Regions from separate parts of the Homo sapiens genome. Here region 2 is linked to region 1. Evidence: promoter capture Hi-C in 16 types of primary human blood cells and fetal thymus (Javierre and others, 2016). All regions are on one chromosome and are shown on one strand. Each heading gives the region's core, a stretch centred on a gene start or on the middle of the fragment in contact. The rest is flanking DNA. Distances are from core to core; before and after follow the strand shown. Region 1 holds the start of MOB3C (MOB kinase activator 3C). Region 2 has its middle 26 kb from the start of FAAH.

Region 1 (6,843 bases), core at 1,172-3,671:
TCACTCTGCTATAGCTAGGTTTCTAAGACCTGAGTCATCTCATCTCAACTGTGAGTGTGTGAGCTACTGGGAAATGCAGACCCATGTACCTACCAAAACTAGAATTTAGCCACCCACTAAGCACACTGCCCCTGCCCCTAGACTGAGCACTAAGGCTGAGTATAAGCTAAGAATTGCATTCTGGTTCCTGGCTGACCTCTGACCTGGGCTCTGGCAAGTGTGAGCCCTGACTCTAGCCTTTAGCCCTACCCTGAGGCTTGCTTATGGCCAAAGCCTGGGCTTGACCTCTGACGCTGGAGCACTGTCCTTTCTCACATCTCTGGTAACCCTGGGACAGGATTGGGGAAGGGAGGGTGGGAACCAGGTGACACCTGGGTAAAAGCAAAGGGATGGCACATATTTCGGGGAGGGGTATTACTTCTGGCAAGAAGTCAAACTAGCTGGGGAGCTGTTTGAGACAAAGGTCCTTCCTTGAACCCACAAAGGCAGGCCAGGATGGGGGCAGTCTGGTAAAATGAGAGCAGCTTGGAGAGTAGAAACAGGCCATTCAGCAGGAACTTGTTCTCTTGAAAAAAACTCACAGATGTGAAAGGTCATCTCATCCATCCCGACTCTTCGACTTCTCACCCAAAGAAGTCCCCAGGGTGGGACCCCAGTTTCCAGAGCAAAGAGATTTCTGCGCTTCATTTGCCATCTCCATTTTAAACTCTGCTTGGGGCAAGTGCTTCCAAAATCCCTCACACTGCAATTAGGCGGGGCTCCTGGGCTCCCCACATTGCATGGCCCCCTTTATGACAGTTAGAAATAGGCCCCCACCCTGGCATTCAGCACCTTGTCCTACCTTTCCTGCCCCACTTCCCACCTCCCCACACCAACCACCCTGGGCTTCTTCCTGATTCCTGAACACGCCCCCACTCTTTTGCCTCTGCATGTTTTCTTATCCCTCCACCTGCCTGACCACACATCCTCAGATTGGCTGCTACCTCCTCCCACAGCCTCCTCTCCTGAACTCAGATCTCCTTCTCCTTGGGTAGAGGCTGCTTTTGGTCATTGCAGTCTCCACTCCATCCCCAACCCACCCCCAGCTTAGGACAAGGCCTGGCACAAAGTCAGTGTTCAGGCTTTAAGGAAAGCTTAGACTAGAATCTTAGAGTTAAAATAGCCCTGATAGATCAGCTGGCCCAACTCACTTGTACAGATGGGGAAACTGAGGCCCAGATGAGGAAACTGAGGCCTAAAAAGAGGACTTGAGGAGCCTGTGTCCACATAGCAAGTTACAAGCAGAACTGGGAACTGGGATAAGGTGGGGCTCAGCTCATGACCAAGAGTAAAAGACCATTTTCCTGCACTGGCTCATCAATGGTCTGGTGGAGACAGAGAAGAGGAGGGGAGTGGAGGGACAGTGGAAGCATCTTCTCCACCAAACAGCCCAACCTGCTTCCTGTCCCCAACACACTGACTCCGCACAGCAACTGGGGTGTCCTGACCAGTGAGCTAGAGTTCCACCTTACTCCTGTGGAACTTCAAGGCCTGGGTCTCTTTCCAGGAAAATGTAAGCTCAGGGGGTGGGTGCAGGGCAGGTGCTCTTCTAGCCACAGGGTTAACTCCCTTCACTCCCCACCCCCATGCCCTCACTGAGTTTCTATCTGTCACAGAACCTCTGTCTCTCCCTGAACCACTGCCGTTCCCCGTCCTAGCCCCCATTTCCCAGTGATGGCTATCCTTTCACTCCTGGAGTGGCAGTGCCTTGCTCGTTCCCTGGGTGCGGATCTGGGCTTCTCAAATGAAGACAGCAGGCTGACCCTACCTGTTTCTGATATTTAGCCCCCTGCTAGGCTACATCTACCACTCCTTGGGCCTGGCCCAGGATCTGGGCCAGAGGATGGCCCCAGTTTGAACCCAGAATCCATCCTGGGACTCTCTCTAGGACAGAGGTCGAAGAGAAAAAGTAGAGGCGAAGACTCCACGCTCTCCTCGCGGCGCGCAGCCACCCACGCCCACCCCCGGCTTCCCTGCAACCTCAAACCAGCTCCCAGGGCCAGGAAGGTCGTAGGACCCAGAGGAGCCCGCCTGACATTTCCGCTCCCCGAAAACACGCCCCCCAACCCCTCCCCTCTGCCCCGTACTCCCCCACCCCGACAATCCCCCCCGCAACTTTCGAAGCTCTGAGCCTCGGACGCCAGCCTCAGGACAGCGGCCAGCCTGCCTTCGGGCGGGACTCTCCTCCGGACTGTGCCACGCCAGGACGGCCGAAGAAATGAAAGTGGAAGCCAGGCGGGCGGGGTGCGCGGCGAGGCCGCAGGGGCACGGCGCACACTCACGGGTCCTCTTCTGGCCGTGGGGTCACATTCCCAGCCACAGGATCGCCTTTCTCCTGCAGGTCCCGCAGTGCCTGTTCTCTCTCCTGTCAGCCTGTCCGTCTGCCTGTCCTGCCGGCCGCGGCTGCCCTCCTGCCCCGGGCGACGCCAGCTCCGCCCCGGCCCCGCCACGCCGCGGCCACGGGGCGGGGAGGGGCGGAGAAAGGGGACTCCCCTCCACTCCAGTACACAGACGCACTCGCCCCCACCTTCCCGGAAAGTCCATATGGGGCTCCCAGCTTCCCCTTGGACAAAGGACTAACTGAGCTGCCCGCCCTCTCGGTGCTTCCTTGGACCTCCACCAAGGAGGCAGCCTCAAGTTCCCAGACAGTAAAATGGGAAAACGCTCGGCTTCTTCTGGAGCAGAAACAAGAGCTGCTAGATAAGGGTGGTTTCTTTGCCCTCCTAGAATCGTCTGCGTCACACTTGTCCCGGGACCCAATAAGGGATCGGGACCGTCCTATCCACTCCCATATCCTCAGCTCCTGGCACATAGCAGGAACTCAAAACCCACTTGATGAATGAATGAATGGGTGAGTGAAGGAATAAATGAACGCCTTGGGAATCATGAGCTGAGTCCTTCACCCCTGAGGGACAAGCCCCAGAAGAGCGCTCAAATCACAAACTTCATCTCCTCACCAGGGAGGGGGCCTGGCTCAGGTTGGGCTGATTCTCCTTGCTCCTTACCCAGAGTCACCCCATTTCTTATCTCCAGACCCTTATCCCAGCTGTTCCATTTTAGAATACCTTCTCTCCCTCCTTCCTTCTGACAAATCCAAACCACTCAAGATCTGATCTGCTCTCCCTACCACCTGGGTTCCTTCGAGGACAGACAGATATCCCACCAGCATTCAATGCACACCGTGGCCCCCAGGCCCAGGGACCAGTTGGCTGCTCTGTCTGGGATGGGAGGGAAGATTGGAGGCTTTCTAGGGTAGGAAGCCCAAAGCAGAGAGCTTAGCCATAGAAGCCACTCTGGAGGGGTGGGAGGTGAGTAGATGCGGGTAGGGGAGAGCTGGAGGCCAGAGGTGGGCATTTACCATGGCACACTGGACCTCCCTTGTGTCTGGACCTTCTGTTGCTGGATGACATGAGAACACGCTAGATCCTTAACCCAGATCATATCCTTTGCAGCAACATGGGCTGGAGCTGGAGGCCATTATCCTAAGCAGACTAACACAGGAATAGAAAACCAAATACTGCATATTCTCACTTACAAGTAGGAGCTAAACAATGAGAATACATAGATACTAGGAGGGGAACAGCAGACACTGGGGCCTGCTTGGGAGTGGAGGGCGGGAGGAGGGAGGATGAGACAAAAATACCCATCAGGTACTATGCTGCTTACCTCGGTGATGAAATTATCTGTACACCAAATCCCCATGACACAGAGTTTACTTATATAACAAACCTACACATGTACCCTTGAACCTAAAATAAAAGTAAAGAAAGAATCCCAGCTCATAGAACTGTGGGTATGTTCTTTTGTTGAGCACCAATTTTTGCCCCAGTCTAAAGTTCTCTGTATTTTTATGTCTGACTCTTAACTCTCTGCCCTGAATCCCCTATAAACAAACACTTGCTTATGGAGCAAATTAAACTATGCTTCTTTATTTATTTGATATCCTAATCAATATCTTTTATTGAGTATAACTCTCCACTCATATCAGATCAGGGGACTGGGTGATAAAGCTGACCTGGTTGCCGACCTCAGGTGCTGACAGGTCAGTAAAGGGGACAACACACAGAGATACACAAGGTCACAGCTCAGTCACCCAGAAGTGAGAATGTGGTTGTGGACTGACGGACTTTGTAAGAGTCGGGGTATTTGCAGGAAGCACATGGAACACCCAGAATGGGTATGTTTAATGAAGACATTATTTACAGGTATGGTCAAGGTGTAGGGAAACCACACAGTGTATCACCAAAGGGCTCACAAGAGCAGAGGCTGTCAACCCCAGGCTGCAGGAGTGTGGGGAAGGAATGGTGAAAGTGGGAGCTATGAGGAGGGCGCTGCTGTGGCCTAAGGTGGAGGGGCATACCCAGCTCACAGCAATCATACAGGGAAGGACAGGGGGCAAGTAAGAGGCCTCACTCTCCTCCCTCTCTCCCTCCGTCTGATCTCTGGCCAGGTTTCCCCCACTAGCTGAATCCTCCCAGAAGCTAAGAACAAGGGAACCTGTTGCTGCAGCCCATAGACGTCAGCCTCCTAGGGCGTAGAAATGGGTAGAGGGTGGAGAGCCATCTGAGGAGCCATGTGGGGTCAGGGCTGACTTCATAGGGGAAATGATTTGGAAACTGCTTGTGTTTTCCTTATCATTCAGTTCTAAATAGTTCATAAATTTCAGTGTAATTTCCTCTTTAACTCTTGAATGATTTCAAAGTATGTTTTTCAGTTTCTCAGCCTATGGGAGGTTTATGTTTTTCTTGTTGAGTTCTAATTATATTGCATTGTGGTCAGAGATCATGGTCTGGAAGATTCTTCAGAATTTGATGTGACTTCCTCTGCAGAGGCTTTGTGCAGGGTCATTTTCTGGACCTCTGAGCTGGGTTTTACAGGATAGGCAGGAGTTTTTCTGGTGAAGAGTGAACAGCACAGAACCTTACACTGTGGGAAATAGAGATGATCCATTTTGAAGGAACATCAGAAATTCCCAGCTCATCCTCAGAGTCCCTGGGTGTCTGTGGGATGGGAGGCAGGTGGAAGGGTTGGGGGAAGCGAGAGAGCCCAGATCTCTCAACTACCTGTACCCTCTTCCTGCCCTTCTCAGTCTTGGTTAGAGAGACTAGTTCTTCTAGGAGGCTCTGCTGGGGCTGAAAAGACCCAGACCTTGGAGAACAGTGTCCTGGCTTTACCGTAATTTAGCTGTGTGGCCTTGGGATGGTTCTGCCCTCTCTGATGAGACACTGTAACCCTCCAGCACTGGAGACCTACACAAGATGGGCTCTGTTCCCTGCCACTGTGTCTTGAGTATGATAAATGGCTCCAGAAGACTTCAAACAAGGCTCATCTCTGAAGCTTGGCGTGAGCCAGTGAGGACCTAGGAGAGGACGTGCCCTTTTCCACTACTCAGCCTGGGCACATGCCCCCCTCGCAGTGGGAACTCTGAGTGGCAGCAGGGTGGTGTCTACCTGCTGTGTGCCTTTGGGAAAGCCCTTGCCCCTCTCTGGGCCTTAGTTTCTACACCTCTACCATGAAAGCATCTTCTAGCCATACGAAGTACCACTCCAAGTACCTTATCAGAACCAGCTTCCTGTGCCTTCCCGCTGTAGGCCTGTATCCAGTGACTCTACTGATACAGAGTGGCCACTTCCTGGGGACTCCCCAGCCCTTCCTATGCCAAGAAAGCTCCCCCACTCCCACCCTGCCCCCCAGAATAAGATACTGCACCCTCAGTTCACCTTACCAGATGTCTGGCAGCTACTATAGCCTGATAGGGCCCACCCTCTACTCACTCTCTCCCAAGAAAGAGTTTCCATTTCAGCTTCTGCCCCTCCCTGCCCAGGAGGCAGGATCATCCGTCCTGGATTTTCCATCCTGGCCCATTGAGGAGAATGCCATGGGCACCCTTACGGCAGTCAGAGGAATTGAGGTTAAACTTCCTTTCACTTGAAGAAGACAAGGTTCAAGGGAAGATGGCAGGGGAAGACAAGGTTGACAAGGACATGCACTAAAATTCTGTGTGACCATGGACAAGGCACTTGTTCTCTGAGCCTATTTCACCTTCTCTAAAGTAAAGACAACAACAACAACATCTGCCCCACAGAAGAGCTGAGAGAATCAAATGTGATAGCACTTGTAAACAGTAGAAGGCTGTGGTCAGTCTGTTTCAGGGGTACTGCCTTCAAACACCCAGCAGGTGTTTGTGTGGAAGAGGGACTGAGCTTGTTCCAGGGTCCTGGAGAGCAGTGGGCAGACACCCAGGACAATATGAAGGGGCGCTTGGCACATCAGAGCTGTCCAACCATGCAGCCGGGATGGCTGTGCTGTTCTCTCAAGAGGGAGTGGTGCAAGCAGAAGTTACCAGTCCCGGGTGACATGGACTTCAGAGGGTTTCAGTCCCTCCAGAGACGGGGAGGGCCGTCTTGCCTCTAAGAACCTCAGGCTCCAGTGTTCTCTGCTCCAAGCTCCTCCTCCTTCCCAGCCATCTCCCCTTAAGGTAGAGGCATTCCTCTCATCTCTTCCATCTTGGGAAGGAGACCTCTGGAGGCTGGGTGGAAGCCTAGTGTGTATAAGTGCCTGAAGACAATTTCACAGCCCTCAGACCTCACCCTCAACATGGCCCCAGTAGGCATTGTCCCCTCCAACCACTTGGGTTAGTTCCCAGCCTGGGGTGCCCCACGAGTGGAGGTGATAGTTGTGGGGGAGGGGTGGTTTCACCAGTGTTCCAGGCTCAGCTTTCCATGGAACCCACTATGAAGGCTGCCCAGGAAATTCTGTCCAACCTAGCCCCTTCTCTGCTGCTGGGGTGCCTCCATGTCAGCC
Region 2 (6,377 bases), core at 629-3,128, 250 kb before region 1:
GATTACAGGCACCCACCACCATGCCTGGTTAATTTCTTTGTATTTTTAGTAGAAACGGGGTTTCGCCATGTTGGCCAGGCTGGTCTCGAACTCCTGACCTCAGATGATCCACCTACCTCGGCCTCCCAAAGTGCTAGGATTACAGGTGTGAACCACTGTGCCCAGCCCATGTTTTCTTCTGAGTAAATACTTAGGGGTAGAATTGCTAGGTCATATGGTAAATGTATGTTTAACTTTATAAGGTACCACCATACTGTTTTCCAAAGTGGATCTACCATTTTGCACGGCCATCAGCAATGTATGAGAGGTCCATTTGCTCCACATCTTAGTACTAACACTTAGGATTATCAACGTTAAACTTTATTGTAGTGGGCCGGGCAGTGTGGCTTATGTCTGTAATCCCAGTACTTTGGGAGGCCGAGGCGGGCGGATCACTTAAGGTCAGGAGTTCAAGACCAGCCTGGCTAACATGGGAAAACCCCGTCTGTACTAAAAATGCAAAAATTAGCCGGGTGTGGTGGCACATACCTGTGATTCCAGCTACTTGGGAGACTAAGGCATGAGAATCACTTGCACCCAGGAGGTAGAGGTTGCAGTGAGCTGGGATTGCACCACTGTACTCCAGCCTGGGCAACAGAGGGAGACTCTGTCTCAAAAATAAATAATAAATAAAAACTTCATTCTAGTGGATGTATCTTGATACCTCGTTGTGGTCCTAATTTGCATTTCTCTAATGAGTAGTGATGCTATAAAATTAAATACAATTAAGAATTTAAAAACATGTAAAAAGAACATGTATGCAGTAAAACCATGTAAGAAGGAAAGAATGGTTCTCACTATGGAATTCAGTATAATGGTTCTTAGAGGTAGGGGGATAGGATGGGGCTGGAGGGAACATAAAGTTAGATTATTGTTAAGGCTCTAGCTTTTATGTTTGGTGCTTATTGAATTATTAAAAGCAGCTAAGTTAATAAAAAGTTATACATAAAAATTTGTTATTCATGACAAAAGTGATAAAAGTATGTTATAAACAAAGATTATGATTAATTCAATTTTGTACATCTGAGGTCTCCCTAAAAAAAGAGAAGGGGGTTGGCTGGGCATGGTGGCATGGTGGCTCATGCCTGTAATCCCAGTACTTTGGGAGGCCAAGGCAGGTGGATCACCTGAGGTCAGGAGTTCGAGACCAGGCTGGCCAACATGGTGAAACCCCATCTCTACTAAAAATACAAAAAAAAAAAAAAAAAAAAAAAAAGTGGGTAGAGAACCAAGCCCACAGAGAATAATAATGCAAAATATGGCTTAATGTAGGAGGGATCATATTGAGAGACCTGGAAGCTTAGCAGTATTGCCTCAGTCTTGTTCATGAGCTCCTCTTTCCTTGTGATTTGCAACAGTTGAACCACAGCAGAGGGTCAGGTATTGGGGCAGTTATGGGTCAATATACATTGATAGCTTGGATCTATGGTTTTCACCTTTTAGGAGTCACAAATCTGTTTGAGAGACTGGTAAAAGCTTTGGCCGTTCTCAGAAAAATAAAGACAAAAAACACCATAGCATTTTACATATAATTTCAGGGGCTTTGGTACTTCCTAAGGCCTATCTCCCCCAAGTTAAGAACCTTTGGATTAGAAGATCTCAGATTTGAGGGTCTTTAGTGGAAGGCAAGGGGGTCAAGCAGAGACCCCAGTAACAACTCAAATCACCACTCTCACCCCTGCCAATCTGCCCTTCTTCCCATCTGCATTCTTCATCTCCAAACTTAACACCACCCTTTACCCTGCTGCCCATGCCAGAAACTGCAGCTATCCTTGATGCAGTGACAGTAATCACTACTGTATATCGAACGTACCTGAGCCAGGCCCATGTGAAAAAAGCATTGTTTTACTTACATCATTGTTTCTTACTTTCACAGAAACCCTGGGATATGCTCTTTTTTGTTGTTGCCTATTTATTATAAAACTTTGAAAGAGTTATTCGTTAATTTGAACATTTTCATCCATTTTGTGGCTTTTCTTTGCACTATTTTTATGGTGTGTTTTTATTGCAGGGCAGGCAAGCCTCAAAACTGGGGCTTAGCCTGGGAGAAAGCCAGGAAAGAATTCAAGGGCAAGCTAGTGGTGTTAGACAGCAATCTTTTATTGAACAGTACTGCTCCTTGCAGAGTAAGGCTAACTCATAGGCAGCAAATCCAGAGTCAGCTGATATACTCTTTTTAGTCCCATTTTATAGAGAAGGAAACAAGCTTAGATTGCTTAAGTAACTCAAAAAGTTACAATCTGAAATTTCTTTTTTTTTTTTTTTTTTTTTTAAGACAGGGTCTGGCTCTCACCAGGGTGGAGTGCCGTGGTGTGATCTCGGCTCACTGCAACCTCCGCCTCCCAGGCTCAAGTGATCCTCCTGCCTCAGCCTACTGAGTAGCTGGGACTACAGGCACATGCCACCGCGCCTGGCTAATTTCTGTATTTTTAGTAGAGATGGGGTTTCGCCATGTTGCCCAGGCTGGTCTTGAACTCTTGAGCTCAAGTGATCAGCCTGCCTTGGCCTCCCAAAGTGCTAGGATTACAGGCATGAGCCACTGCGCCCAGCCACAATCTGAAATTCCTTTCTTGAAATGTCGCTTATATTTCTCTCCTTCCTAGCATTCCTACCTTAGGTAGGGCCTTATCATTTCTCACTGATCAAAGGCAGTAGCCTCAAAACTCATTTCTATTACTCCAATCAGCCCTAAATTCTTCCATTCTCCCCCATCCTCTCATGCCACCCCTTATCTGTTGTGTGATCGCCGATCACAATAATTCCTCCCATCCTGTCCCAGTACAATGTGACTTTGCTGCTTCTGTCATTAAGAGATGGAGTCTGTTTCCCCACCTCTTGAATCTGGGCTGATCTTATGATTTGTTTTGACCAGTAAAGTCTGGTGGAAGGGATGCTGTGCAACTTCTGCATGTAGGCCTCAAGAAGCCTCGCAACTTCCACGCTCATTTTGGAGCTCTTCTGCGGCTCTGTGAAGAAGCCTGGACCAATCTGCTGGAGACATGTGCTGGAAGCTGTCTTAGACCTCCTAAGCTCAGTTAAACGGTTAGGTGACCCAAACAGCATGAGTGACCCCAGCCAAGACCAACCTAAATCGCTGACCTCCAGAATCATGAACAAATAAAGTAGTGGTTGTTTTAAGCCAGTAAGTTTTGGAAATGGTTAAGTAAATTTAAATAAAATTTTAACATATGTCATTTGTGTTAGTAAGTAACACAAATCTGAGTGTCATTCATCTGCTTATAATTCTTTGTTCTTTAGGCTGGGCATGGTGGTTCATGCCTGTAATCCCGGCACTTTTGGAGGCCAAGGCAGGAGGGTCGCTTGAAGCCAGAAGTTTGAGACCAGCCTGAGCAACATAGGGAGAACCCATTTTTACAGAAAGATCCTTTGTTCTCTCTCCATTGCCAGCAGGATCAAGTCCAGACTTTTGCCCTGATCCCTGGTTGTTGATGCTGTTTTATCTGTGTCTGTCATGCCTTGCTGCTCCCCTTTTGCACAAATTCTTTGTCTATCCATGCATAGCATACCCCAATGCTTCTGGGTCAGGACAAATTGTCTCCTCTGTCTAAATGCCTTTTCCCTTGTGCTTTCTTGCTAGCTCAAATGTCCACCCCTCTGGAAGCTTTCTCTAATCCTTCTAAAGCTGGGTTGATCCTCTTCTGTGCTCCCCAACCTTCTCTATAATACAATGAATATAGCACTTTCCATGGCCACTTTTTCTTCTTTACCCATCTCCAAACTAGGAATTGTTAGGGACAGTAAGCTGGTATTTATTTTTGCATCCCTAACCCCCAAGTACCAACATGCTTAGTACCTATTTGGTAGTTAGTATATATTTGAGTACCTCCTATGTGCTAGGCTTAACTGTAGACGCTAGAGTGGTGAACAGAGCAGAAAAAAGTCCTTGTTCTCATGGGATGTACAATCTAGTGGGCAAGATAGACAAGTAATTACAAGTAAATTACAAGCAATTACAATTAGTTATAAGTAAATTATGAGTGAGCCAAGTACTGAGAGAAATGTAAAGTGCATATACCTGAGGGACCTAACCTCGCCTGGAGGAAGAGATGTTTAAACAGAGCTGAAGATAAAGAGGAGTTAAATTAGTGAGGCAGAGGAGGATGTTGGGAGTGCCCTAGCAGAGGGAACAGTTCGTGTGAATGTGAAGTCAGGAAAGAGGACATTCTAGATTCTGAAAGAGGTCCAGTATCCTGCAGTGTAAGGAGAAAGGAATGGTTGTGAAACACAAGGCTGGAGAAGCAGGCAGAAGCCAACCTACAACAGGGCTTTCTGGGCCACTTGAAGGAATAGGTATTCCATCCTGAGTAACTGGAAGCCATTGTCGGAGTTTTAAGGTGGAAAATGATCTGATCAGATTTCATGGGCCCCCCAGTGGGAATATGATTATCAGAATTTACTGAATGAGGAAGTTAAATAACTGGCTCTACAGAAATTGCTTCTGAAAGTCAGTCCTGTCCTTAAGTTTACTCAGCCTTATCTCTCTGAGTAAATGGGAACTTTTGAGCTCCAAGCTGTTCAGACCATATTTTGAGGTGACACTTTAGGAGGTGTACTGGCTGAAGAGGGTGACTGGGATGGAGAGGAAACTGAAAGTCTCATTCTGGGGAGAACTGGGGGAATTGGGAGTATTTCGCCAGGAGAAAGACAGACTTAGGGAAGAGAGATGTTGTCTCCAACTAGGACTGTTCTGAGGCAGGGGAAGCAGATGTGTTTTGAGTATCCCCAGGGGCAGAGCTGGGACCAGTAGAAGGAAGTTGTAGTGAGCCAGACTGTAGGTTAGCATACGAAACCTTTCAATGAGTGTTTTCTGAATTATCGCTCACAACCATGAATCATTAGTGGTCATGAAGTCAATTTGTGGGTATGATAAGCCTTAGGACTTCTCACAAAGGAGTACTTAGTTACTCCTTCTCTTGGACATGTAGTAGGCTTGCCTTCCCCACTCCCTCTGCAGGTAGGCATAGCCACGTGACTTGCTTTAGCCAATGAAATGTGCACAGAGGTGCTGTCTTTTTTTTTTTTTTTTTTTCCAGATTCATTTCACTTTTGTTATGAACAAACACAATCTCAGATCAGTATAACTAACTTCAGAGTTGATATTAATAGAAATTATTCCAAAATTATTCTTAGGTCACAAATTACTAGTATGCCACATAAAAAGGGAAAAATCCCACCTCATCAAAGAAAAGGTGTCCTGTGTATGTTTCCATGGGAATGAGTTTAAGCATTCTCAAATTTTCTCCGGCTAGTTATCCACCACTTCTCCAATGGATTCATTCAGTCTCTTAGAGAACCATATAGACTAATGATAGCTTCCGGGACACACAGACAGATCAAGTTCATGGTGGACATTGTTATTATAAAAAATACTCAGGTCTTGAGAATTCCTTTGCTGAAGGATCCCAAAATGCTTTATAAAAAGCATTAGTCATGCCTCAAAACTGCCCTTTGAGGTAGCTCAGTATTATTATCCCCATTTTAACAGAAGAAAACTGAGGCATATTAGAGTTAAGTGACTTGCCCAGGGTCACATAGCAAGTCAGTGGCACTGTGGTAGGAGAGGCTCTGTCCTTAACCACCAGCATAACATTGCCACCTTGATTTTTTTTTTTTTTTTTTTGAGACAGAGTCTTGCTTTGTTGCCCAGGCTGGAGTGCAGTGGTCTGATCGTGGCTCACTGACTCCCAGGTTCAAGCAATTATCCTGCCTCAGCCTTTCGAGTAGCTGGGATTACAGGTGCCTGTCACCACGCCTGGCTAATTTTTCTTTTTTACTTTTTTTTTTTTTTTGAGATGGAGTCTTGCTCTGTCGCCCAAGCTGGAGTGCAGTGGTGCGATCTTAGCTCACTGCAAGCTCCACCTCCTGGGTTCACGCCATTCTCCTGCCTCAGCCTCCCGAGTAGCTGGGACTACAGGTGCCTGCCTCCACGCCTGGCTAATTTTTTTGTATTTTTAGTAGAGACGGGGTTTTACCATGTTAGCCAGGATGGTCTTGATCTCCTGACCTCGTGATCCGCCCACCTCGGCCTCCCAAAGTTCTGTGATTATGGGCGTGAGCCACCGTGCTCAGCCTAATTTTTGTATTTTTAGTAGAGACGGGGTTTCACCATGTTGGTCAGGCTTGTCTCAAACTCCTGACTTCGTGATCCCCCCGCCTCGGCCTCCCAACAATCTGGGATTACAGGTGTGAGCCACCGCGCCTGACCAGGGAGCTTTCAATCATGATGAAGGTGAAGGGGGAACAGGCTTGTCACATGGCAAAAGCAGGAGCAAGCAAGTGGGGGTGGAGGTGGGCGGGGGGTGCCACACACTTTGAAA

What was found. The method cuts DNA at HindIII sites, captures the fragments that hold promoters and counts their contacts. A CHiCAGO score of 5 or more calls a contact.
Region 2: a fragment that was not itself captured here is called in contact with the fragment with the promoter of MOB3C in region 1 in 1 of 17 cell types (monocytes); the score reaches 6.5 in monocytes.

What each region holds. Positions count from the first base shown.
Region 1 is chr1:46,614,390-46,621,232 of GRCh38, forward strand. It overlaps MOB3C (MOB kinase activator 3C), which reads right to left and starts at 2,422. Exons shown (of 4, transcript NM_201403.3): 1 at 2,322-2,422. RefSeq lists an enhancer at 1,847-1,916 and a silencer at 2,317-2,596. The HindIII fragment of the contact is 4,243 bases long and covers 1,132-5,374 here.
Region 2 is chr1:46,365,475-46,371,851 of GRCh38, forward strand. It overlaps a transcript of NSUN4 not described here. Among named protein-coding and RNA genes, the nearest start is that of FAAH, 26 kb to the right of the region's middle. The HindIII fragment of the contact is 730 bases long and covers 1,514-2,243 here.